7 separate regions of the Homo sapiens genome follow, and regions 1, 2, 3, 5, 6 and 7 are each linked to region 4. The links are contacts of gene promoters, found by promoter capture Hi-C in blood cells and fetal thymus (Javierre and others, 2016). All regions are on one chromosome and are shown on one strand. Each heading gives the region's core, a stretch centred on a gene start or on the middle of the fragment in contact. The rest is flanking DNA. Distances are from core to core; before and after follow the strand shown.

Region 1 (3,136 bases), core at 368-2,867, 870 kb before region 4:
ACTGAAAAACTGTGTTCAAAAATCCAATCTATCAATATCATTAGAAATAATATTATAAGCAAACATATACCACCTCACCTATTGCTTTCTCTGCACTCATTTACATTTAGTCTTCCATTCTGTCAGAATCTAAGAGCTTCAACATAAAAGTATCTTAATTTATAAAGCAACAAAAACCACATATGAAAAGTACTAAAATTTTGTAAATACACAATAATCCTAATACCTTCGTACAAATGCATATGGGCAACTAATTTCTTTTTGATCCAATGATGTCTTTTTCAGCTTCTTGGAGAATGAAGTAATCCAGTTAGGAAATGGTGTAGTAACATATACAATTGCCCTCAAATGTAAAATCAAATATTATTACATTTTGTTCTAATTGAAATCTGAAGCATGGTGTCTGCACATCAGCATAGTGTTAAATCTTATAGGGCATGCTGGAATTAGCTCAGATTATAAAAATATTTAACATTTTACATTGTTAATAAAGTTTTTTAGTTAAGCTAAGCTTGTCTCATTTTAGATGACTATGCAGATAAGATTTTTCCAACGTGTACTTGGTGTCTTGTCTTATGCTTAGACTCTTGAAAGCAGGACACATTAAGCAATACTATATTTTAGAAAGGAGGAAGCCACATGCTTTGTTTTTCTGCTCACAGCTTTGTTGTGATCTTCCTTCACTAAACTTGTAACATGGTACAAATTTTGTTATACCGTCTCCTGTTCTTCCTTTGGCCCATTTCCCAGACAGAATTTCCCATGGGTTGAGAGATCAAGTCTTTGCACTTTTTTTCTTGTTTTCCATAGTCTGAAAAACCTTCAAGTCAGACAGGAGGCACCAGTGTCCAGTACAATAGAAGGATGAGCTAGATGCCGATAAGTGGTTTATCCAAGACACATCTTTAGTCCCAACCCTGTTCTTTACCAATACTTATGTGCACAGGCATTTATATGTATACCAATATTTTTACCTAAAAACTAAATATATTAAGGCCTTTTGCTTTAGTGAAGATGAACTACTGTAATAATTATTGTATTAGGTTGAATTATATGAAATTTCCTATATGTGACTGTTTTGACCTACAAAATGGCAATTTCTTATAGTTCACCCTAATATCCAATGTGGAAATTATACTTGGAATTGTCTTCTAGCTCTTTTGATTGAAAGTGAAAGAATTAAAGGGTTGGAAGAGAACGTTATACAGGTCTCTATTTAGATCATACCAGCTGGTTTTTGGCCTTATTCTTTGAATCTAGAGTTGTGTTCCAAGGAACCAGTAATTAATGCATGGTTATAGGTATACCTGGCTTCAAAAAAAAGAAGTAGCCGTGGAAAGCTATATGAGAAAATCACAATTTTCTGAATCAAATATTTGTAAAACAATTTGGCTATTTAAAGACTCTTAGGGTAAATACTCCCTGGAAAAGCAAGCAATCCAGACTTATCTGGTCTGCAAACCTTGATTTCAGCTTAATATCCTTTCCTGAATCTAATTCATTTTCACCCACTAAGGTCATTTCATTTAAGATCCATTGTTTTTGAAATTTTGAAGTAGCCCAGTTTGGCAGCTCTCAGCACCTGCCTCTGCCCTCTCCTATACTTCAACTATATTGAACTCTAGCTTCAATCTAGTTCCTACTAATCCATGCAAAAGTTATTAACTGATAAGCCCAATCTTGTTCAGCACGTTCTTCTAAATGCCTGACCTAAATAACTTCTGCTTGGTTAACTTGTGTTCATTCTCACCTTAGCCTCAGTGTGAAAGTAACACTTACCTTCTGTGCAATTGTCCTTTGTACAACTGAAGACTGTTAATAAATTCAGGTCTCACCTCCATGTCTGAAAAGGCTATAGTAGCTATTCATGGAGATGGGAATTTGTCTAATTACCTAGCCAGAGTTTGCATATTTAAGGTAATATATTCAGCTACCGTATCTTTTATTCATAGTGCCTGTTTTCCAGCCTTTGATCAGTTTTGTAGTTCCCGTGGATAAACTCCAAGATCTAAAGATCCTCTTTCAGTAGCATATACTAAAATTAAGTTTAGTGCTCAAAACCCTGGTAACCTACACTGGCCCAAGGTTACAGTAGGTAATTCACCGTCTCACATTAGACAGGCCAATGCATCCCTTAGGAGCTGCCCCACTCTCCTCTCACCTACCAAAGGATTTTCTCAGGTGTGGTTCCAAGCGATAAAGTTCTACTGTCTCGGCTTCCTGCTGGTAATTCGCTTTCAGATTAGCAATAACACTGAGCTGATCTCTAGGGTTAAGAAGAGAACATTGAACTCATTTTGTCGCATGTACCCACAGGCTTGAAACAGAAAATGATGTAAACTTTTGTGGCATACATTCACCCATTTTCCCACCATATCTTTACTATCCTGTGTTGATTTTTTTTTCAAATTACAAAGACAATACATGTTCTTTGTGGGAAATCTGAAAAATACTACCAAATAGAAAATAAAAATCACCTGAATTCCACCACGACCACATTGTTTAAAACCACATTTCTGGGTTTTAAATCAGTCAGTGGCTGGGCCCAAAGGCACTTTTGGGTAAGATAAGTGAAGAAATGCCCACAAGGCCAAGGTGTCACTTAAAAAAACAAACAAAAAAAACAAGCCAGAAAAAAAAAATTCTGTCCGCTAATGTTTTGCACGCATCTAGGAGCAGACTCACTGCAAACCTCTGGTTATGCCATTATTCAGGGGTATAAAGAAAGCTTTAGAAGTAGCATAGTCCTGATGCCTCCTCTAATGAGTTAAAGCTCTTGGGGGAAATTCTAAAATTGCCAGACCATTTTGTTTCTCTGTGCTCCTACGAAACCAGTCGGGATACTGAGTGTTTGGCAATACTGCCACCTACTGAAAGCTGAGCTTCAGAGTGAGGTGAAATAAAGACAGAATGTAAAAGCATCTACTTTGTTTTAAACAGCAAACAAATGGACCAGATTAACAATGATCCCATCTGGAATTTAAAACTCTGAAAGTGTCAACATTGAAAGGATTAAGCATATCATCCGGTCAAACTTCCCACCCTACCCACATACCCAGGCAACGTCTATCATTTCTTTGTCTTAGGAATGTCACCAAATACAAAATGCTCAACTTTCAGGTAACCATAGGTAGGA
Region 2 (3,334 bases), core at 718-3,217, 710 kb before region 4:
GTCATGAGTTAGTTGAGTGAAGTATACATTGACTGAATAATCATGCAAATAAATGTTTAATTACAAAATGTGATAAATACTATCTTCTGAACAGAAATAGGCTGAATGATAACATAAGGGCCCAAGTTTTCATCCAAAAACAGCTTGGGACTTTTTCCAGCATAAGGCTCATCAAAGATATTAAAGCTTCTAAGTTCTGTAAGGTTAAGAGTGTGGACAAAAATTTGGTCTGTGAAGAATTTGAAGCACATGTAATAAGTCTGTTCAACGAATGTTTATTGCCTTTACTATCTAATGGTACATTAGGTGCTGAAAGCGTACAGAGACATTCAGAGTAAATGGGACAAAATTCCTCCCTTCAAAGAACTTAGTATCAGCTTGGGAAGTAATTGATACATGATACCAGTGCTTGGTCCCTGGTTGTCCATAAATGTTCTGTGTTTTGCTGTAACCCTAGCCCCTGAAGATGAGGCAAAGAAATGTAGTACTTGACAGAAAGTTTTTAAGCATAAGAGGTAATTCCCTGAAGATGAAATTTCCACATATTATGATCACTTATTCTAAATTGTGTCTGGCTTCTTCACTTAGTGTAATGTTGCTTTCAAATGATAGGGGTCTGTCTTCCTGTTGTACACACTTAGTTTTTAAATATCTTGAAAATCAAAATGGCTTTATAAGTATATTTGCATATATGTTTATAAGAAACATGATATTATCAAGGTATTAATTGGGAATTTTAAGAGAAAGAGCCAAGGAGGCCTACAAAGTAGTGATGACCAAAGAGAATGTATGGCCAGAGGAGGAAGGAGCCATATACCTTCTTTATTAATTCAGTAGCTTATTAATGAAAAGATTAAGAAACCCTGGTGAGCAAAGTGGCCCGATTATATATGCATTCTTTTTACTAGGTGTAAGTTGCCTGTGGCCAAAAAACCACGTAATAATGACTATCATTTTTTGAGCACTTATTATTTGTCATTTACTTTTCTAAGCAGTCTATGTATTACAGCTCATTTTGTCCTCACAGAAATCCTAAAAGATATTATTATCCCGTTTTTAGATTAGGAAATTAAGTGACAGAGATGTCAGATAGTGTGCGCAAGGTAACAAAGCTAGTAAATGGAAGGGCCAGTATTTGAATTTGGGCATCCTGATTCCAGAGCCTGTGGAGGGAGGGATGATGTAATTAGTGTGTTCATTAGAGCAGTGGTTTCTAAACCAGTGAGTGCATACTTCAGTGGGTGTGCAAAACCATCCATGAGCTGTGGGGAGAAAATCTATATATATTTGTATTTTTTTCCTTTGTTTAAATTCATTATTTAATATATATAAAAAGATGATGACTGGGTGCAGTGGCTCATGCCTATAATCCCAGCACTTTGGGAGACTATGGCAGATTGCCTGAGGTCAGGAGTTCAAGACCAATCTGGCCAACAGGGTGAAACCCTGTCTCTACTAAAAAAAATGCAAAAAAAGTAGCCGGGCATGATGTTGTGAGCCTGTAATCCCAGCTACTCAGGAGGCTAAGGCAGGGGAATTGCTTGAACCAAGGAAGTGGAGGTTGCAGTGAACTGAGATCACACCACTGCACTCGGGTCTGGGAGACAGTGAGACTCTGTCTCAAAAAAAAAAAAAAAAAAAAAAAAAAAAAAAGTCCAGGCGCAGTGGCTCATGCCTGTAATCCCAGCACTTTGGGAGGCTGAGGCGGGCGGATCATGAGATCAGGAGCTCGAGACCAGCCTGGCCAACATGGTGAAACCCCGTCTCTACTAAAGATACAAAAAATTAGCTGGGTGTGGCGGTGGGTGCCTGTAGTCCCAGCTACTCGGGAGGCTGAGGCAGGAGAATTGCTTGAACCCGGGAAGCAGAGGTTGCAGTGAGCCGAGATCGTGCCGTTGCACTCCAGCCTGCGCAACGGGGTGAGACTCTGTCTCAAAAAAAAAAAAAGGCACTTTTTTGGCATTGTGGTGTAATTTTTCATAACGACTAGCCAAATAGATTTATAGACCATAGTATTTAGATTAACTAAACCAGCCATCACAAATTTCTTATTGAAGATATTATTAATAATATAAACAAGCAAATCATAAGAACATGATAGAGCTGATACCTCAGCATGGGAAGTCTGTCAAAAAAATCAGAAATTATTATGAAGACCATTGGAAATATGGATTTCTATTTATTGTTTTCAATGGTGAACTTTGCCTTAAATATATATTGTGTCTTGAAATATTTACCAGTAAGAGTATAAAGTCATTGTGATTTTCAAGACATTTAAAAACTAGATGTGTAGAACTGAAAGACCCCTATATAATTTGAAAGCAACATTATGCTAAGTAAAAGAAGCCAGACACAAAAGGCCACATATTGTATGATTCTGTTTATATGAAATGTTTAATAGGCAAATCTACACAGACAGAAAGTAGATTAGTGGCTGCCAGAGAGTAGGAGTAGGGGTAAATAGGGAGTGACTGCTAATGAGTACAGGGTTTCTTTTTAGGGTGGTGAAATGTGACTTAGCATTGATGATACTGACCTATGAGAAACAGCCTCATGTTTTTGAACAGTTATATTGCATACTCTTTACTTGAAAGAGCATTCTAAAAGATTGTGATGGTCACAAATTATTGACACTGATCTACTTTGGTATACTAGGGGAGAAAAAAGAAGAAGTAATACTGGAGAAATTGGTTTCCAGCTATGCCACAATGTTCAAATTTAGAGCCTAACATTCTTTTTGGTTATTTGTGGTTATAAATAAGACAGTTATAAACTGTTTCCTGTGGGCCCAGCAGGGAGGGGTTCTAGTTGCAAAGTTTCTGGTTCTACCAAGGAGTATCTGCTGTTATGAGCTGGTGGAAAGGCTATCACGGGATTCTATTTACTATAGAAGGTGATTTTAAGACATAGTATTTTAGTAAATCACAAGCCAGAATTAGATTAAGAATGTTCCTTTGTAAATTAGGAATAGCATGATGTTAAATGAGCAGAGAGAGTAAAAGGTAATTAAAAAGGGTAATTATAAAATTGTCCTATAATGTCACAATTTAATGGGTTCATTATTCTTTAATTTCTTAATTTGCTACACAGTTTTATTGGAATTGATGCAATGGGAAACTCAATTATAACAAATTTGCATTATTGGGGTTTTGTCATGTTTTATTTTATTTTGAGACAGGGTCTTGCTCTGTCATCCAGGCTGGAATATAGTGGCATGATCATAGCTCACTATTACTTCAGATTCCCAGGCTCAAGTGATCCTCTCAACTCGGCCTCCCAAATAGCATGGAACACCACCATGCCTGGCTAATTAAAACAAATTTTCTTAGAGACA
Region 3 (3,239 bases), core at 497-2,996, 750 kb before region 4:
GGTGTGTATTCTTGTAGGCATTCTTTATATAAAACCAAATACACACACATTTACTCATACACACATAGTTGCATATAAGTTCCAAGTATTTTTTGCCTTTGAAAAATGTACTGTCACATATATTTTGCAGCTTTTTTTTCACTTAACATAGCAGATATTTATCTTTGTCATTAAATATATATCATTATTAAACACAGAAGTGTTCCCATTAACCATATTTTATCAATTTCTACTTTCATTGTTAGAAACAATAAGCAATGGAAATCTTTGTACATATAAGAAGTATTTCTGGGTGACAGAACTTGTGTATATTTAAAGAAAAAGCAGGCTGGGCGCGGTGGCTCATGCCTGTAATCCCAGCACTTTGGGAGGCGAGGCGGGTGGATCATGAGGTCAGAAATTCGAGACTAGGCTGGACAACATGGTGAAACCCCATTTCTACTAAAAATACAAAAAATTAGCCAGGCGTGGCGGCAGGAGCCTGTACTCCCAGCTACTCGGGAGGAAGCCTTGGGGTTATTTGGCAAGGTAAAGAATAGACATCAGTTTGTCTCATAAAATCCTAGGAGATTTTTATTGACCACGCTTTCATTTATTCAACAAATATTTACTAAATGCTTATGTGTCAAGTACTGTGCTATGTACTGGGTCTTTGCTGTGCATGATCCTTGCCCACAGGGAACTTATAGTTAAGTGGTGAGAAAGAAAATTAACAGGCAAAGATAGCATTCTAAGTGAACAGCAAGGGTAGTGCATGTCAGGAAGAGGAAATTAGTGCCAAAGCTCCAAGGCAAAAAGAGTTTGGTGCGTTCTAGAAACTAAGAAGAGGTTGTTGCGGATAGAAGGGGAGGGGCAACTATGAATAAGAATGAACATGAATGAGAACAGATGAACAATATCATAAATACATGTAGAATACCATGAAATGAGAGGCCAGAGAGGTAAGCAGGAACTTGCTTATTCAAGACCATGAAGGCAACAGTAAGGATTTTACATTCTAAGTGAGACGGACTGTGTGATCGGCAGACTTACAAGGTAAATGAATTGGAAAGGGCTAAGGGGAAAAGGCAGGGGAATAATAAAGTAACTGGAGTAGTGCAGGCCAGAGATGGTGTCCTGAGGTGATATGTGTGTGCGAAGGATGATGGAACGAAAGGAATCAAGGATGACCACCAGGTTTTTAGCAGTGCCACTGATTAAAATGTGGATTGGTGGGAAGTGGGTAGGAGCCTGAAGGACAATTGTGGGTGGGAAGTAAAGATTTCAATTTTAGACATTTGAGATCTAAAAGACCTGTTTGACATCCAAGTAGGTAACTGAAGTAGGTAGTTTGGTATGTGATTCTGAAGTTTAGAGATTAGTCTGGACACACACACTGATCAGCTTATAGATAGTATTTAAAACTATGGGGAATAAATAAAATCATTTAGTAAGAGAATGATGAGAAAAAAATACAGGGAGTAAAGCCCAGGAAGATTATCTGCATCTTGAGGAACTCCAACATTTACGGGCTGAGAAGAGCAAGAAGAAGAGCTGTCAAAAAGACTGACAAAGAAGGGCCACGGGGTTGGAAGAATACCAGAACCAAGAAGTAGGAATGTTGAAGAGAGGGGCTACCTATCAAATAGTACCTAAAGGCCAAGTAGAATGTGGATATAAAAACGCCAAATAAATTTGGCAAAAAGTATTTAAAGACCTTGACAAGTGGACTGAAAAACAAATGGAAATAAAAAGGTAGAGAAAGTAAGAATAAATAACTTTGATGAGAAGTTTAGCTAGAAAGCAGCAGAGAAATGGAATGTTAGCTACAGGGATGCAAAGGATCTAGGGAAGAACAATGGGAAAAACGAAAAAAAATTGATGCTGATTGAAATGATGACGCAGAGAGGGGATAACTGAAGGAATAAAATTCTTGAAGAAAAGAATTCATAGCAATTATGGTAGGACATGCCTTCGAAAGGAAGGACAGTCCTTCCATTTTAACTGAAGGAAAGAAAAGAAAGATGGATATATATATATGCAAATTTGTGGATTCAGTAATTGGAAGCTAAGATGCTCTCATTTGGTGTCTTCTATTTTGTCAATGAAAGAGGGAGTCATTAGCCGAAGGAGGAAGGGAGAAGTGGGAAAGGTATAAAATAAGTATGTGGAGTGAACTTGCAAAAATAAATGCAAGCTGAGATTAGGGATCATGAATTTATAGAAACACCAGTCTGCCTCTTCACCTTTGCACTGCTGTAAGGGGATCAGCATAGAGAAGGCAAAGAGGTTCATCCATATTTGGGGTTTTGCTAGATAAGGGTAAAAGATAAAGAAAGGAGTAAGGCAGTTACAGATATTTGCAAAAGAATAATGGTGATAACTATGATGGAATCTAAGCTAGATAAGGGGAAGACTAACTGAATGAAAGTGGTGGGTCAATAGCCTGAGGGTCTTTACATTAAATAAACTGGAAAGATAAGAACTTGGAGTAAAAAGCGTACAGTGTATGCCATTAATTTTGGAGGCTGAGAACAAGGTCCAGGGTGCAATCATGGAAATGTGTGGCTAAGGTGAAGAGACAGAAAAGATCATTTTCAATGATAAGGTGGAGAAGATGAGTTAGGGTGTTGTCAGGTCATTCACAGGTCATCTAAGAATGTCTCTAAGAACAATGAGAGGACTTGAGATGAAAAATAAGACAATTGAGAGTTTGAGGCTGGAGGATCGCATAAGACTCAGAGTTCGAAACCAGCCTGGTCAACATAGTGACATCATGTCTTTATAAAAGAAAAAAAAAATTAGCCAGGCATGGTGGCACATGCCTGTAGTCTCAGCTACACTGGAGGCTGAGGCGGAGGACTGCTTGGGCCCAGGAGTTTGAGGCTGCAGTGATTCCAGAAGCCATGATTGCATTACTGAACTCCAGCCTAGACAACAGAGTGGGCCCTTGTCTCAAAAAAAAAAAAAAAAAGAGGACAGGAATCTTAAAATAATTGTGAGGAATGGCCTGAACTAGATATAGGACGACAATAAAAATGGGAAGAAGCAGGAAAGCCAAATGACAGGAGCCTCAAAAGGGCATTTTGCTAAGACAATATGTTGATGATGTCTTGAACATATAAAAAATGTGAGTTATTAAAGACAATCAGTGAGAAGTATGTAGTTTAGAGAACTAAAAATGTAATTAAGGAAAAAAATAATGGCCAGACCAAAGATAAAATGTATTAAGAAGGAAAGCAGTCTTGAAATTCCAAGAA
Region 4 (3,377 bases), core at 468-2,967:
GACACTTGAACATAAAAAGAACATGTTGAAAATCACACTCAAGTGTCTCTTTTAAAGTTCCAAGCAATGGTTCAGTTTCCCTTTTTCTCTCTGCTCTGCACACCCTCACCTCCCCCCGCCCCCACCATTCCACTTCGCCCAGACAGAGGGTAACAGTCTGAGCTGCCCTGGTTGAGTTGATCCTAAAGTTAACATTCAGCAGCCCATTTCCAGACAGCAGCGCTAAATCTATTTGGATAAAACGCGTGTGACCCAGACAGTTGGCATCTGGCCCAAACGCGTTGCACCGGCAGCTCAAATAAAAACAAGAGTAAGAAACTCACTCTCTTGTTCCCTCTCAGTGCGCTTTCTCAATCTCTCGCTCACTTTTCCTCTAGTACAGGGAAAGAAAGCATCAAAGACAGGAATTGTAGCACATATTATCAGAAAGAGGCTTCCCAATACCCCATTCCTGCACTCTCACTCTCCCTCCTCAATCCCTGAACTTTGGTCCCATACACCATATATACAGACCTACCCCGATAAACAAGGCTCCGGAGGGTTATGAGTCTAGCACGTCCCAAGTGGCCAAAAGTAAATCAAAAACACACGTTTCCATCTCTTTGATTAGCCTATTAAGAGCTTAACATGTCCTAGAGCATCGGGGCTACAGCTAGCACATTAATGCTACCCTCTGAGCCCAGGCATAAAATATGCACTTGTCTGAAGACTTAACGACACTGACATGAAACTACAAAATGCATAAGACTTTTCTGTAAGAAAACTGGAAATCAATTTAAAACACACACATCATTATTACCTTCCGGATTACTATTTGGTGATCAGTTAAAAGATTACAATAATCATAATCAAGTCCACTTCACAAAACATGTATTGTATATTCATAAAATAAACGTATTTTTTTTGCATCATAAAATAACTGCAAGTCCCAGAATTCTACAACCCCCGACAAGTCTGGAGTTAAAAAGATATCTATTTGTAAAATGAGTTCAGTCAAGCTCACTCATTGCCATTAAAAAAAAAAAAAAAAACACACACACAGAAAAAAAGTTTTCTAAGCGTTATTCGGAAGACAAGCAAAGCACAAGTTGTTGGTTTAAAAAAAAAAAGCTCCATTGAATATTGTTAAGTCTTCCTTACCGTTTTCATCTTCAAATTCTGATAAAAAGTAAGTTTCAGACAATAGAGATTGCACTGGACGACTCACGTACTCCCTCTCCTCTCTAACTTTTTTTAATTTTTTTTATTTTTTTATTTTTTGCCCCCCTTTGCAAAGCCACACCAGCCAGTTATTCTGCAGCCAGAATAAAACCCTATGGTCTGGCTAACCCGGGCTTTAGAGAACTGACTTTCCGATTTGGCAGAATAAGAGATGCCTTCAATACATCTAGGCTATCACTCTGAGATGCTGCCTTTGCAAACCCCCTTTCTCTCCCTCCCCACCCCCCAAAAAAGGAAAGGAAAAGAAAGAAAAGACGGGAAAAAAGACTTATTGGGGGTGGAAGTGGTGCCCTCTCTTCCTGGAAAGCTTAGTGCCTTTGCTATGCAAATAACATGTGCAGAGCATCAAAAGGTATCAGGAGAAAAGAAGACAAGAGGAGCAGGAAGGGCAGCAAAGTTTTGTTGAAGTAGCCCTAGATCTCACTACCGGCCCCCAGCCAACTTGAATTGCAGCAGGAGAAAATTTTGGCAGCTTTTCCTCGGAGGCAGAGCACACTGACGTCAGTCTGCAGATGTGCCTGGGCTGCGTCGGGTGCGCATGTGTCCTGGGTCGTCACGTGGAGGGGGAGGGGAGGTAGAGGTACAATCGGGGTAACCAACTACCAGCCATTCAGAAGGGCTTAGACAATGTCAACTTTTCCACACTGTGAATGAGAGAAATTCTGGCCTCTCTAACCTCTCTGTCCTATCTCATTCCGCCTCTTTTCCTCCTCCTCCTCTAAACTCTCTTAGAAATTCTAGCCTGGTTTGCTATTAGTTGTTTCTTGGAAAAATGAAGGGGGAGGGAGAAGGATGAATGACTTTAGATGGACTAATGTCACTGTTAAGATCTCTGGTGTCATTCTCCGTGTAATTTTATTTTTAAAATCCACACAATCAAAATGTTAAAACTTGCACGCAAACAGTGCCTCTGAGGAAACTTAAAGCTTAGATTCGTGCAGCAGGCACAAGACTCAGTAGCTACAAGTGTACAAAATGCCTGTGTTTTATACATACTTCAGCAAGTAAGGTTAGCACCAAAAGGGAAAGTAAACTAAAGTAAACTAATACCAGCACATTTTCCATTTGATTATCGACTTCAGGTTATGTGGAGCTTTAAAAGAAGAAGAAGAAGAAAAAAAAAAAGTAGGGGAGGAGGGAGCGGGGGAAGGAAGAGAGAAGCTTGCATTATTTCCAGATGAGGGTGAGACTGGATGGTGTTTTAAAGTGCAACCGGGAAAAGCCACAAGTGGAGTGTATTTTTTTAAGTCAGTCCATTGAATGAAACTTCAATGACTGCCCAAATGAAAATAAATCCGAAGTAGGACCCCACCACCAAAAAAAAAAAGGAAGGGAAAAAAACAGGAACCCTGCTGCGATCTCAAGATAAACAAACAAAACCTCAAAACTGGTTCTTCAACCTTCCCAATCCCACCCTCCCTCCCCCCTACACACAAGCTGCCAGTCCAGACTTTAAGGATAAAATACCGCTACAATGTAGCACTTTCACTTTCATTTGCTGAGAATGAAAGCCGCTGGGGAGAAAATGCCCAGTGTTTTCCATGTCCTAAGCAAGCAAACAAAGTCTGGCACATACATCGGAAACAGGAAAAAATGTGAAAATAGCTCAGGACAAATGTTGCCTTTCAACGGTGTAATCTGCTGCATCATTTATCTGTCTCTACCATTGAGTGTAGAATAGGGAGCTGTTTAAGAGTTTCCGAGGTTGGGGGCAGGGGAAAATTGACGCCTTGAAATTCCAGCCCTTAGTTAATGCCAAGTCAATTTCCGATGGTGAGAACCAGAAAGGAGAACTGGACCGGAGGGAAGGGGGTAGGAAGGATGATCTTTCTGAATACCAGCTCTTAAATATCAAGCTTCTGCTAACATTATTGCCCATTTGATTTTTTTTTTTCTTCCTACGCCGGAGGTAGTAGGTGTAATTCTTCTGGTGAATCTATGAATAGTTGGCTAAAAGGAGGCATGAATCAGACTGAGAACGTCCAAGAATACAGTTATTTCAATTCTTCTTCAAGGGTTGAAAGTGGAAAGCATCTGTCCACAGAGTAAATAGTCCTCATCCTGACCTTAATCAGTAGTATCTGGCTAAAAGCCATTTAAAATGTAGAAATCTGTTCAATAGTGGGCATTGAGTTTTAAATAAAGATGATTCATAT
Region 5 (3,048 bases), core at 223-2,722, 730 kb before region 4:
GAGTTATTTTAAGAATAAAATAATATCTTTCATGCAGTTAGTACAGAGACTAGCACTAAATAGGTATTTAATACACGGTACCAGGTTATGACCATTTATTTTACTAATACAAGGACAAGTATATTCTCCCCTTTCCTCCTTCCAGGAGTAGCTATGCCACATAATAATAATAATAATAATAATAATAATAATAATAATAATAATAATAAAAACCCTCCAGTTTCATGTTTCATTTTGACTGTACAGATAAAAATCTGTCAATCTATACACACACACAAAAACCCTCTTGTTTTATAAATAGGGTACCCAAATGTCTACTTCTGGGCTTACAGAATATATAGACTATGCTAACAGCTACTAATTTAACCAGGCTTTAGCTCTACCTAAAATCCTCAGATTTGAGAACACACAAGCTATTTTATAAGCTTTTAAATTCCTAAACCCAGTTCATTCCACCAAGCTTCCACATCCCTAACATTTTGGTTCCACCCCTAAAAATGCCGGCCTCTTCTGTAGTCATATATTCTTTCTTGAAGTCTTTTTTTTTTTTCCTTTGAGAGAGGGTCTGGCTCTGTTACCCAGGCAGGAGTGCAGTGGCACAATCTTAGCTCACTACAACCTCTGCATCCTGGGCTCAAGCCAACCTCCTACCTTAGCCTCCAAAGTAGCTGAAACAACAGGTGCACGCCACCGTGCCTGGCTAGTTTTTTTGTTTGTTTTTTGTAGAGATGAGGTTTCGCCATGTTGCCCAGGCTGGTTTCAAATTCCTGGGCTCAAGCAATCTGCCTGTCTCAGCCTCCCAAAGTGCTAGGATTACAGGCATGAGCCACTGCACCTGGCCAACTTCCTTGGAAGTCTTATCCTCATATTTATCTTTTATTTCCCCACTGACCTAGCTGATCATTGCCCCTTTCCTAGTCTTTTTCGATAGATTCTTAAACATGTAACTGTCCTATGCGCTCACATAGTGTTGCCACCACACTTAAGGGATATTTGGCTCTTCCTTGAGGGCATTTCTCTATAGTTAATTATCCTTTACCTCAGTATTATTAGTATTCTCCAGGCTTCTCAATATTGTTTCCAAGTAGTAATCCTTAACTGTCCACTCAGCTCCCTGCTGCAGGTTAACAGCCCCATTCATTGAAATTTTTTGAATGTGGCTCATACTCTAACTCTTTACCCCAAGCCCTGCCACGAGATTGAATGGACAGCCTAGGTTGTTGGATAGCTTTTCTGGGTTCCCTGACATTCTAGATTCCATGGTCACACTATGGTCCTTGTTATCATCTGCAACTGTTTTATCTCTGAAATTTTAAACTCCAATATTAAACTCTGACTGTGTCTTTCATCCTTCTAGCTTTTTCATTCATTTACACTCATGCATAGATCTGTTTTTGATTCTCATTATGATCTTCATTCCCTTAATGCCTTCATTTTCTCCCAGTCTCAAATCTCTTATTACTGACAATATGAACAACCTTTTACAAGTCTGACTCTTTTATATACCCTTGTTCATCCTCATTGCAGACAAATGAATCTGACTCAAAGTTACTATTTCTCTGGGTTGTTACCCACCACTCCCCCACCACCTCACAGAGTAGTCAGGCAATGCTTGAGTGTAACAACCACCTGTTCATGCATATTAGCATTTTTTATTTGTCCTTAGTCAACTTCCTCTCCTACTTCCCTCAATGACTTTCTCAAACTGGTACCTGTCTCAAAACATTCATCACTCACTGTCCTGTCCTACTCAAACTCCCTACCTAAGGAGGCAATCCTGTCTTCTAATTTACAAACAAAATTGAGATTACCAGGCTGGATCTCCTACTTTCTATCACCACCTGAAAACATCTATATCTATTCTCATCTAGTTTCTTCCAAACTTCAGAGGTATCCTTGTCATACCTCTTAGAGGAACTTGCTTAATCTTTCCTTATCCTCCAGTATTTGTAATATGTCCTCTAATGTTTCCCTCAGTCTATACCAACATTTTATACCTTAAAAAAGAAAAAAGAAAAAAACCCTCTCCATTTATCCCAGTTTCTTCCAGAAATTACTCAATGTTTTGTACCTCTCTCATGGAAATTTCTTGAAAATGGAGACTACATTGGCTTTCTCTATTTCATCCCCCACCACTCAGGCCTGAATCTACACACTTTGTTTCATGACCTACAAATCTACTTAAACTGATCTTGCTAAGGGAAGCAAAGCATCCTACCTGCCAAACCCAAAGAACATTTTTCAGTTCATTTCTTATAACTCTTATCTGTTGCACCTGACAATTTCCCCCACATCCTTTGGCTAATGTGATGCTACATGCTCTTGTTTCTTCTGCCATATTTTCCCGGTCACTTTTCCCTCGGTTTATGCCTATATTATTTTACTCCACCATCTGATATTGTACTCTATGAGGAGTCTGTTATTATTCTAAAATATGTTTAATTAAATATCATATAGGTCAACAAAATATAAATGTGGAGAAAAAAAGCTTGGTTGTTTCTAGGAAACAAAAGCTGTACCTTTAGAAAGATGTAATTAAGTTGCTTTTAAAAAGCAATTGACAAATTCAGCAATGGCAATAAGACTGTAAAAGGAAAAAAATAATCTAAAATAATGGGACAAGGTACCTGCTTCTCAAAGGGAATGCCATTGGCATTTGGGGCCAGAATGTTCTTCACTGTCCAGGACTGTCCTACCATTGTAGGACGTTTATAATCTTTGGGCTCTACATAGTAAGCGTCATAGTGCTGCACCCTCCATCCTGTTGCTGACAATAAAAAACACTTCTACAGATTTCTAGGGAGGCAGTACCACCTGTGGTTGAGAATTAATGATAAATTTCTTTACAAGTATCTTAACTTCTTGCCTACCTTTGAAGAAGCAAACTATAAAAAATAGAAAATGCATTTCAGATGTGGTTTACACACACAAGACTGAACACCAATAAACAGACATATAAACAGGCAATAAAAAAGTGACAAATTTATATTTATGTAAAATGTTAAAGGTATTTACATATTTGTTTTTATTTCCTGCTGCTGTGATCAA
Region 6 (3,244 bases), core at 695-3,194, 830 kb before region 4:
ATCTACTACAGTGCCCAACACCTCACAACAGAACCTACTGTCTCAGTGCCCAGGTCTGGAGCTGACAGGCAGCTTTGGAGCTGGCCAGACTCAGGAAGAGGTCAAACATACACCAACACCAAACTACATTCAGCCAAAGTCATTTTCTGCATTTTTCTTTCCATACCCCAAATTAAAATTTCTACTCCCTTGGTATTTTTATATTTCACATTTTTACTTTATTATGACTCACTATCCAAAAACATTTACCATTCTCAACTTATGAGTATTGTTTGATTCCACAATAGGTACAACCACAGCTGGATCTAGAGAGAGGTTAATATAACTAGATACATGTGTGAGACTGACATATGATCAGAGCATTGCTAGGCTTCTGTTGATTGGATTGCTTATTGACAGATTAAATCAAGTCTTAGCTAAAGAGGCACAGATCCACAAAACAATTGACTGCTCTTGCAAAAGAAGTAGATGTAGTGTTCATTTAATATTTTATATGCAGTTTTCCCCTAAGCAAATATTTGAAAATGTTCTATTCATCTGATAATTGCAGATAATATAACCCAAAACACAACGATTCTCTATAACAAAAAAGAATGAAAGAAGCAATATGCACCATTATACTGTATAGTATTGAAGCCAAGATTTGCCAGTTGCAAAGAACAATCAAACTAATTCTATGAATGAAAGAAGTTAATTTCAAGGATACAGATGCTTCACAGACTCCAAAGACAGGGAATGACCCTGAGAGGTGAAATAGTTCTTAGTAATGGTATGGTATCCTTCACCCCAGTCTTTTTACAGCCTAGTCCTATTGCCATAATCTCTCAGCCATCTTTCTTTACTTTCTCACTTACACATAGCTATCAGACCCAATTCTACATTAAACTCTAAAGACTTATTTCTAGATCCTTTGGTTCAAATCCTGATTGGGTGACCAGTAAACTCTGTACAGAATGGCAGGGGTCCTGTCACCTGCTGTCTGCTCTGCAGAGCTAGAACAAGAAACTTTAAACCAGAAAATTAAATTGCGTATGGTGGATCCATAAATGTATCCATACATTGGCATGTAGAGTTTACACAAACCATACATGTTCACTTCTAGTAACTGGATATTCCATGTTCATCCTGTTAAGGCCAAGGGAGAGTTTATAAGGCCAAGGGTATAGCCTGAGGCCTGTAGACTAATAAGGCCCTTGAACAAATAAGCCTACTACTTAATTCTTCTAGGATCCGTTCTTAGATGACTATACTAATTCTAAGGGTGGAGTAAACCAGACAATAAGGAGGACACCTGGAAGAAGTTTTAGCTTTGGACTATGTTCAATAACCTAGGTGGGGTAAGAAAGCTGGGGGCGGGCAGAGACCATAATTTTCTCCATAAATAATTTTGTTTTAGGACATATAGGTTGAAACTAAGATGGTAGATTCTGCTCTAATCAGCCCTTCTCAGTTTCATCCAGCTCTCTGAAGCTCCAAGATGGTATCTGGCTCATAGGCTAGTCTCATGCCTTTGAGGAACAATGTTCAGCATTATATGTAGCATGATTACAGAAGCTTTCGGAAGGGCATGACTACTCCAAAAGGCCTCTTGCAAAAAGCCAACAGCAATGCCTGAAATTTCATCATTAAGGATTCACCCATGCCCAGATGGGTTTCTAAATACCATTCCTCATTAAAGTAATAACACACCTTGGAAAATGGCTGACTCCAGGGCAGCAGCAGAGAATGTTTAAGGGGAACCAGGGCATCTTCTCACAAAGCAAAGCAGTCCTCAGAACTGATTAGGTTATATCAAAGGGAGATAAAAGCTGGCTTATAGAGACTTGCGCTGGCCAGATTTGGCATTAATTATAATGTATGCACTAAATTTAATTTGAGCATCAAAGAGAATAATGACAATAATTGATTATAACTTCTAAAAGTCTATAGTTATACTTGAGAGAAAAAAGCTCATCTTTATTTTTTAATGCAGCTAATAAATATAGGTTAAATAATAGAAGGAAAAAAAATCACCATTTTGTAACTCAATTCCTAATGTTATAATTGGCTGAGAACAAGAATCCTCAATGGGTTCTAAAACCACAGCGTGAAAAGACACTGTGAAAACTCAATCCCAAAATATGACCTCATAGATCGCTTACTAATAAAAATGGAAATGTCTGACAGGCAGCCCCAAATCAAGTGATCAAATGTATTAGTATTATTATTCAAACATTATTATCAATAATGAGGCAACCTAACATTATATGCATCTTGATGTGATGCATTATGAAATATGGAAATATTTTACCCAAAATGTTTACCTGAGATTGATCAAGACTCTAGATCTAACTTAAAGCTTATAAGAAATACAGAGAAGATAACAAGTTTAATTACACCATGAGTAGTCTTCTATAAATCAGCTAGCTTAATTTCTTCAATAAGTCATCAAAAAAGTCACAAAAAAAGTGAAAAAAACCCAGAAGGACTCTTCTGGGTTAAAAACAATGAGGAACATACCAAACAAATGAAATGTGTAATCCTTGACTAATCCTGAATTTTTAAATAAAAGTCATTGTTGGAAACATTGGGGAATATAAAATAGATATTAGATGACATTATGGCATTATTATCAACTTTCTAGGAATTGTGCCTATTGTGGGATGATACTTCGTTATCAGGTGATTCATACTGAAGTATTTAGGTATGCATATCTTAATGTTTGAATTTATTTTCTTATGGTTCAGGAAGAAACCATACATATATACAAACACACAGAGACAGTGAGATAAAACCAATGTAGCAAAGTATTAACAATTGATGAACCAGACAAAGGGTATGCAGAGTATTCATTGTATTATTCTTTCAACTTTTCTATAGTTTTGAAATTTTAAAAAATAAGAAATTTGGTAAAATAATAGAGATAAGCATTTTTAAATGTAACTTCGAGCGAAAATCTCCATGGCAGTCTAGCCATGTGGCAAAGAGGGAAAAAGCATTTTCAGGAAAGGAATACAAGCAGGCTGTGGAGTAATCACTAGCTAGAGAGAGTAGCATGACTAAAAGGAAGACAAATGCTAATAATCAAGACAATGGGAAAAGGCCTCAAAGGCATTTTAGGATTATTCAAAGCATCCCCTCCCATTACAGGCCTAGACGCCTGAGAGGAAAGAATGGTGTCATGGTCCAGGCCCAGGACACTTCTGCCCTGCTAGACCTCAGGACACTGCTCCCTGCATCCTGACAGCTCTGGCTCCAGCCTCAG
Region 7 (3,547 bases), core at 737-3,236, 850 kb before region 4:
CAGGATGAAGGGGTGGGAATAGCCCTCAGAAATGACTCCCTAAAGAAGGCTGCATTCTATAGTACAGAGCATTAGACTCTAAGTCAAAAGTTCTGGGTTTCACCTCCAGCTACACCCATCGTGTAGCACGGAGTCACGGACCCCTGTCCATAGTTTCTTTATCAGCCCTGCAGAGATAATAACATTCGTCCTACTGATCTTCCAAGCTATTATGAAACCTCCATAAGTAGTAAAATTCTATACAAACTTAAAGAACCACAGATAAGAGAACTTCATGAACTGTTTGGAAAAGTATTACCATTCTAAAGGATATTTGGATAGCTTCACCACATACAGTCATCCCTTGGCATCCACCAGGGATTGGTTCCCTGCGCCACCACCAACCCCCACCACCCCCACAGATACTAAGCCTGCAGATGCTTAAGTCCCTTACATAAAATGCTGTAGTATAGTATTTGCAAATAACCTGTGCAATCTTCCCATATATTTTAAATCAACCCTAGATTACTTATAATACCTAACACAATGTAAATGTTATGTAAATAGTTGTTATACTATATTGTTTTATCTGTTATTTTTATTATTGTATTTGTATTTTTTATTGTTTCCTTCTGAATATTTTTAAGCCACAGTTGGTTGACTTCATGGATGTGGAACCCTCAGATACCATGGGTCAACTATACTTTGTGCATATGATCCATGACTGAGAGATGCCTGCTTTCGAGCAGCTCACCATGCAAGGGGCAGACAAACTCTAAAAAGAATAATGTGTTCCTAACAATAAGCAGCCGTTTAAATACTTAGTCAACCTGTCTACTGGGGGGAAACAAGCTACTTTCCAACTCCAGGCATGAGTGTTAGATATTCTTCTGCTCCACCAGCTCTATCTCTAATCTTCTCCAACTTGCTCTGTGCCCCAGGAGGATTAGCCATGTGAATTCCATCAGTGGGCTCCCTTGCCCTTTGGCTTCCAAATGTGTCTGTCAAAGGGGAGCCTGACAGGAGGGAGGAGGGAGGAGAAAGACAATGAAATCAGGACATGTGTCACACTGACTGTCTCCCTGCAGGGTCACAGTGGGCTGACTACATGCAGTGATCGAATGTCTCGACTCTTGGCAGATGGTCCTCCCCATGCAACCCTCTCTCTAGGTTCTGCTCCCTAAGAGTTGTAAAGGCATCCCATTGTTAATATTCTTGGAGGGCCACACTATCTCTTGTGGTTTCCTTATATCCTGTCCACACTTTTTACATTTTTTTTAAATTAAACTCTCTTCACACCACTTGTCTGTTTCCTACAGATACACAGCCACCTTGTGTCTTATATCCTAGGGTGGATACCAAGGCTCTCATGCTAAAGGCAGCACAAAACATTCATTCATTAAACAGCTGTTCACTAAGAGCTGCCTTTGTGTCAAGTCCTAGGGAAGACAGCAGTAAACAATATAAATAAATATTCTTCCCTCTACTCTGCAGTGGGTGATTAGAGAAGGCTTCTTGAGGAGACAACATGGAGGCAGAATCCAGGACAATGTGAAAGAGCCAGACATATGAAGATGTCTAGAAAGAACTTTTTAGGAAGAGGGACAAAAGATGTAATGACTGAGGAAGAAACAATGACCGAGGGAGAAACAAGCTTGGCCTTATGGGGGATACACATAAATCCATGTGGCTGAAGCAGAGTGAATGAAAAGGAGACTGGTAGGAATGGTAGCAAATGTGAGACTTTGTAGGTCATGTTAAGGAGTGTGGATTTGATTCCAAGTGTTATGGGAAGCCCTTAGGAGAGGGCACGGGGGAGCTTAGGTGTAGCATGATCTGATTTATATTTTAAAGATTTATTGGCTGCTGTGTGGGAGCAGACTGTAGAGCAAAAGTGGAAGCAGAGTTAAGACAGTGTTAAAATAGCCGAGATAAGAGAGGATGATGGCATGGATGAGACTGGTAACAATGGGATATGAGGAGAAGTGGTAATAGAAAGTAATCTAAACTTGTTTGTGAGCTGGATATAAAGTGATGGAAAAAAGGAACAAAGGATGCTACTAAAAAAGTTTGATCTCAGTGACTCAGATGCCATTTACTAAGATGTGGAAAACTTGCAGGTTGCAAGTTGTGGGATGGCATGGTTGTGGAGAAATGAGAACTTGTGTGCCTATGTGAAACCCAAATTGAGATGTTAGAGAGGCAAGGAGATATGAGCTTCGCTCTTAGAAAAGAGATGAGAGTTCAAGAAACATCTGTGTGAACTACCCACACATGGAAATGGATGAGAATCCCCTGAGAAACAATGTGGCTGGAGAAGATTAGCGGCAGGCCCTGAGCCAGAGCATCACCTGGGGTTTAAAGCTTGGGGAAAAGAGGGGCTAGCAAAGAAGTCTGAGAAGAAGCACTCATAAGAAAGAAAGATGATAGTGATGCTCTAGCCTAGTGAAAGGGCGTTCAAGAAAAATCAACTGTGCTAAATGTTGCTGAAAAGTGAAATAAGTCAAAGCTTAAAATGAAGTCACTGGGGCCGGGCGCAGTGGTTCACACCTGTAATCCCAGCACTTTTGGGGGCCAAGGCTGGTGGATCACATGAGGTTGGGAGTTCAAGACCAGCTTGGCCAACATGGCGAAAACCCATCTCTACTAAAAATACAAAAATTAGCCGGGTGTGGTGGCACACGCCCATAATCCCAGCTACTCTGGAGGCTGAGGCAGGAGAATTGCTTGAGCCCAGGAGGCAGAGGTTGCAGTAAGCCAAGATCACACCACTGCACTCCAGCCTGGACAACAGAGCAAGACTCCGTCTCTAAAAGAAAAAAAAAGAAGTCATTGAGTTTGCCAACATGTAGGTTGCTGATGATTTTAATGTTGAATGACAGAGACAAATGTAAGTTAATGGGAAAATTGGAGGTTATGGGATGTAGATAGCCACTATTAGACAACTACTGGAAGGAGTTTTGGTGTAAGGGGGAGCAGCTGGAGAAAAAGGTGGAGCCAAGAAAGAAGGATTATTAAGACAATAGAGTATATTTGTATGCTGATGGGACTTATCTAGCCAGGAGAGAAATATTGATCATGTAGGAAGGAGGGGAGCTCGTTGAAGGAATGAAGTTTTGAGAAGGTGAGAGAGAGTGTAGGATCCACTTTATAAGTAGAGGACTTGCCCTTAGGTAGGGACTCAAACAGGAATTTTAAATTCCTGTTTCTAAATGCCACCAGTATATTAAAATCCCTTGAGATTTTTTTTGAAAGAAAAAAATAGATGTCCCACAGTAGATTAATTAATTCAGAATCTCTAGAAGTGGGATTTTGGCATCAGCATTTTAAAAATTCTACATATAGCTCGTGTTGATAATCACTGATGCATTGAAATGGGAGTGAAGTCAGGTTGTGTGAATACAAATACAGGTAGTCTGATCTACTTGGTGATGGAAGAATGAGGCAGTTCTCCTCTGATTGCTTCTATTTTCTCAATGAAATAAGAAACAAAGTCAGAGCTGAGAGGGTGCTGTTGATTTGAAGAGAGAGAGTTAGGGCATGAAATAATTTTTGGAAGTAGGAAAGT

What was found. The method cuts DNA at HindIII sites, captures the fragments that hold promoters and counts their contacts. A CHiCAGO score of 5 or more calls a contact.
Region 1: a fragment that was not itself captured here is called in contact with the fragment with the promoter of ADAMTS6 in region 4 in 3 of 17 cell types (total CD4 T cells, M2 macrophages and M0 macrophages); the score reaches 5.7 in total CD4 T cells.
Region 2: a fragment that was not itself captured here is called in contact with the fragment with the promoter of ADAMTS6 in region 4 in 16 of 17 cell types (fetal thymus, activated CD4 T cells, total B cells and 13 more); the score reaches 19.6 in fetal thymus.
Region 3: a fragment that was not itself captured here is called in contact with the fragment with the promoter of ADAMTS6 in region 4 in 7 of 17 cell types (total CD4 T cells, total CD8 T cells, activated CD4 T cells and 4 more); the score reaches 8.9 in total CD4 T cells.
Region 5: a contact is called between a fragment that was not itself captured here and the fragment with the promoter of ADAMTS6 in region 4, in 4 of 17 cell types (activated CD4 T cells, M0 macrophages, erythroblasts and 1 more). The highest score is 7.1, in activated CD4 T cells.
Region 6: a fragment that was not itself captured here is called in contact with the fragment with the promoter of ADAMTS6 in region 4 in 2 of 17 cell types (M0 macrophages and total CD4 T cells); the score reaches 5.5 in M0 macrophages.
Region 7: a fragment that was not itself captured here is called in contact with the fragment with the promoter of ADAMTS6 in region 4 in 15 of 17 cell types (total CD4 T cells, total B cells, megakaryocytes and 12 more); the score reaches 18.4 in total CD4 T cells.

Annotation. Positions count from the first base shown.
Region 1 is chr5:64,609,689-64,612,824 of GRCh38, forward strand. It overlaps RGS7BP (regulator of G protein signaling 7 binding protein), which reads left to right. Exons shown (of 6, transcript NM_001029875.3): 6 at 1-2,631. Among named protein-coding and RNA genes, the nearest start is that of SHISAL2B, 79 kb to the right of the region's middle. The HindIII fragment of the contact is 2,217 bases long and covers 510-2,726 here.
Region 2 is chr5:64,771,003-64,774,336 of GRCh38, forward strand. All of the region lies in intron 1 of CWC27 (CWC27 spliceosome associated cyclophilin), which reads left to right. Among named protein-coding and RNA genes, the nearest start is that of CWC27, 3.7 kb to the left of the region's middle. The HindIII fragment of the contact is 3,566 bases long and covers 185-3,334 here.
Region 3 is chr5:64,728,586-64,731,824 of GRCh38, forward strand. All of the region lies in intron 3 of SREK1IP1 (SREK1 interacting protein 1), which reads right to left. Among named protein-coding and RNA genes, the nearest start is that of SREK1IP1, 38 kb to the right of the region's middle. The HindIII fragment of the contact is 4,686 bases long and covers 1-3,239 here.
Region 4 is chr5:65,480,203-65,483,579 of GRCh38, forward strand. ADAMTS6 (ADAM metallopeptidase with thrombospondin type 1 motif 6) reads right to left here and starts at 1,718. Exons shown (of 25, transcript NM_197941.4): 1 at 1,141-1,718. RefSeq lists enhancers at 1,471-1,830, 1,598-2,097, 1,871-1,920. The HindIII fragment of the contact is 619 bases long and covers 1,527-2,145 here.
Region 5 is chr5:64,748,900-64,751,947 of GRCh38, forward strand. The region is part of intron 2 of SREK1IP1 (SREK1 interacting protein 1); the gene reads right to left. Among named protein-coding and RNA genes, the nearest start is that of SREK1IP1, 18 kb to the right of the region's middle. The HindIII fragment of the contact is 2,028 bases long and covers 459-2,486 here.
Region 6 is chr5:64,646,558-64,649,801 of GRCh38, forward strand. No RefSeq gene overlaps it. Among named protein-coding and RNA genes, the nearest start is that of SHISAL2B, 42 kb to the right of the region's middle. The HindIII fragment of the contact is 784 bases long and covers 1,553-2,336 here.
Region 7 is chr5:64,628,751-64,632,297 of GRCh38, forward strand. No RefSeq gene overlaps it. Among named protein-coding and RNA genes, the nearest start is that of SHISAL2B, 60 kb to the right of the region's middle. The HindIII fragment of the contact is 710 bases long and covers 1,632-2,341 here.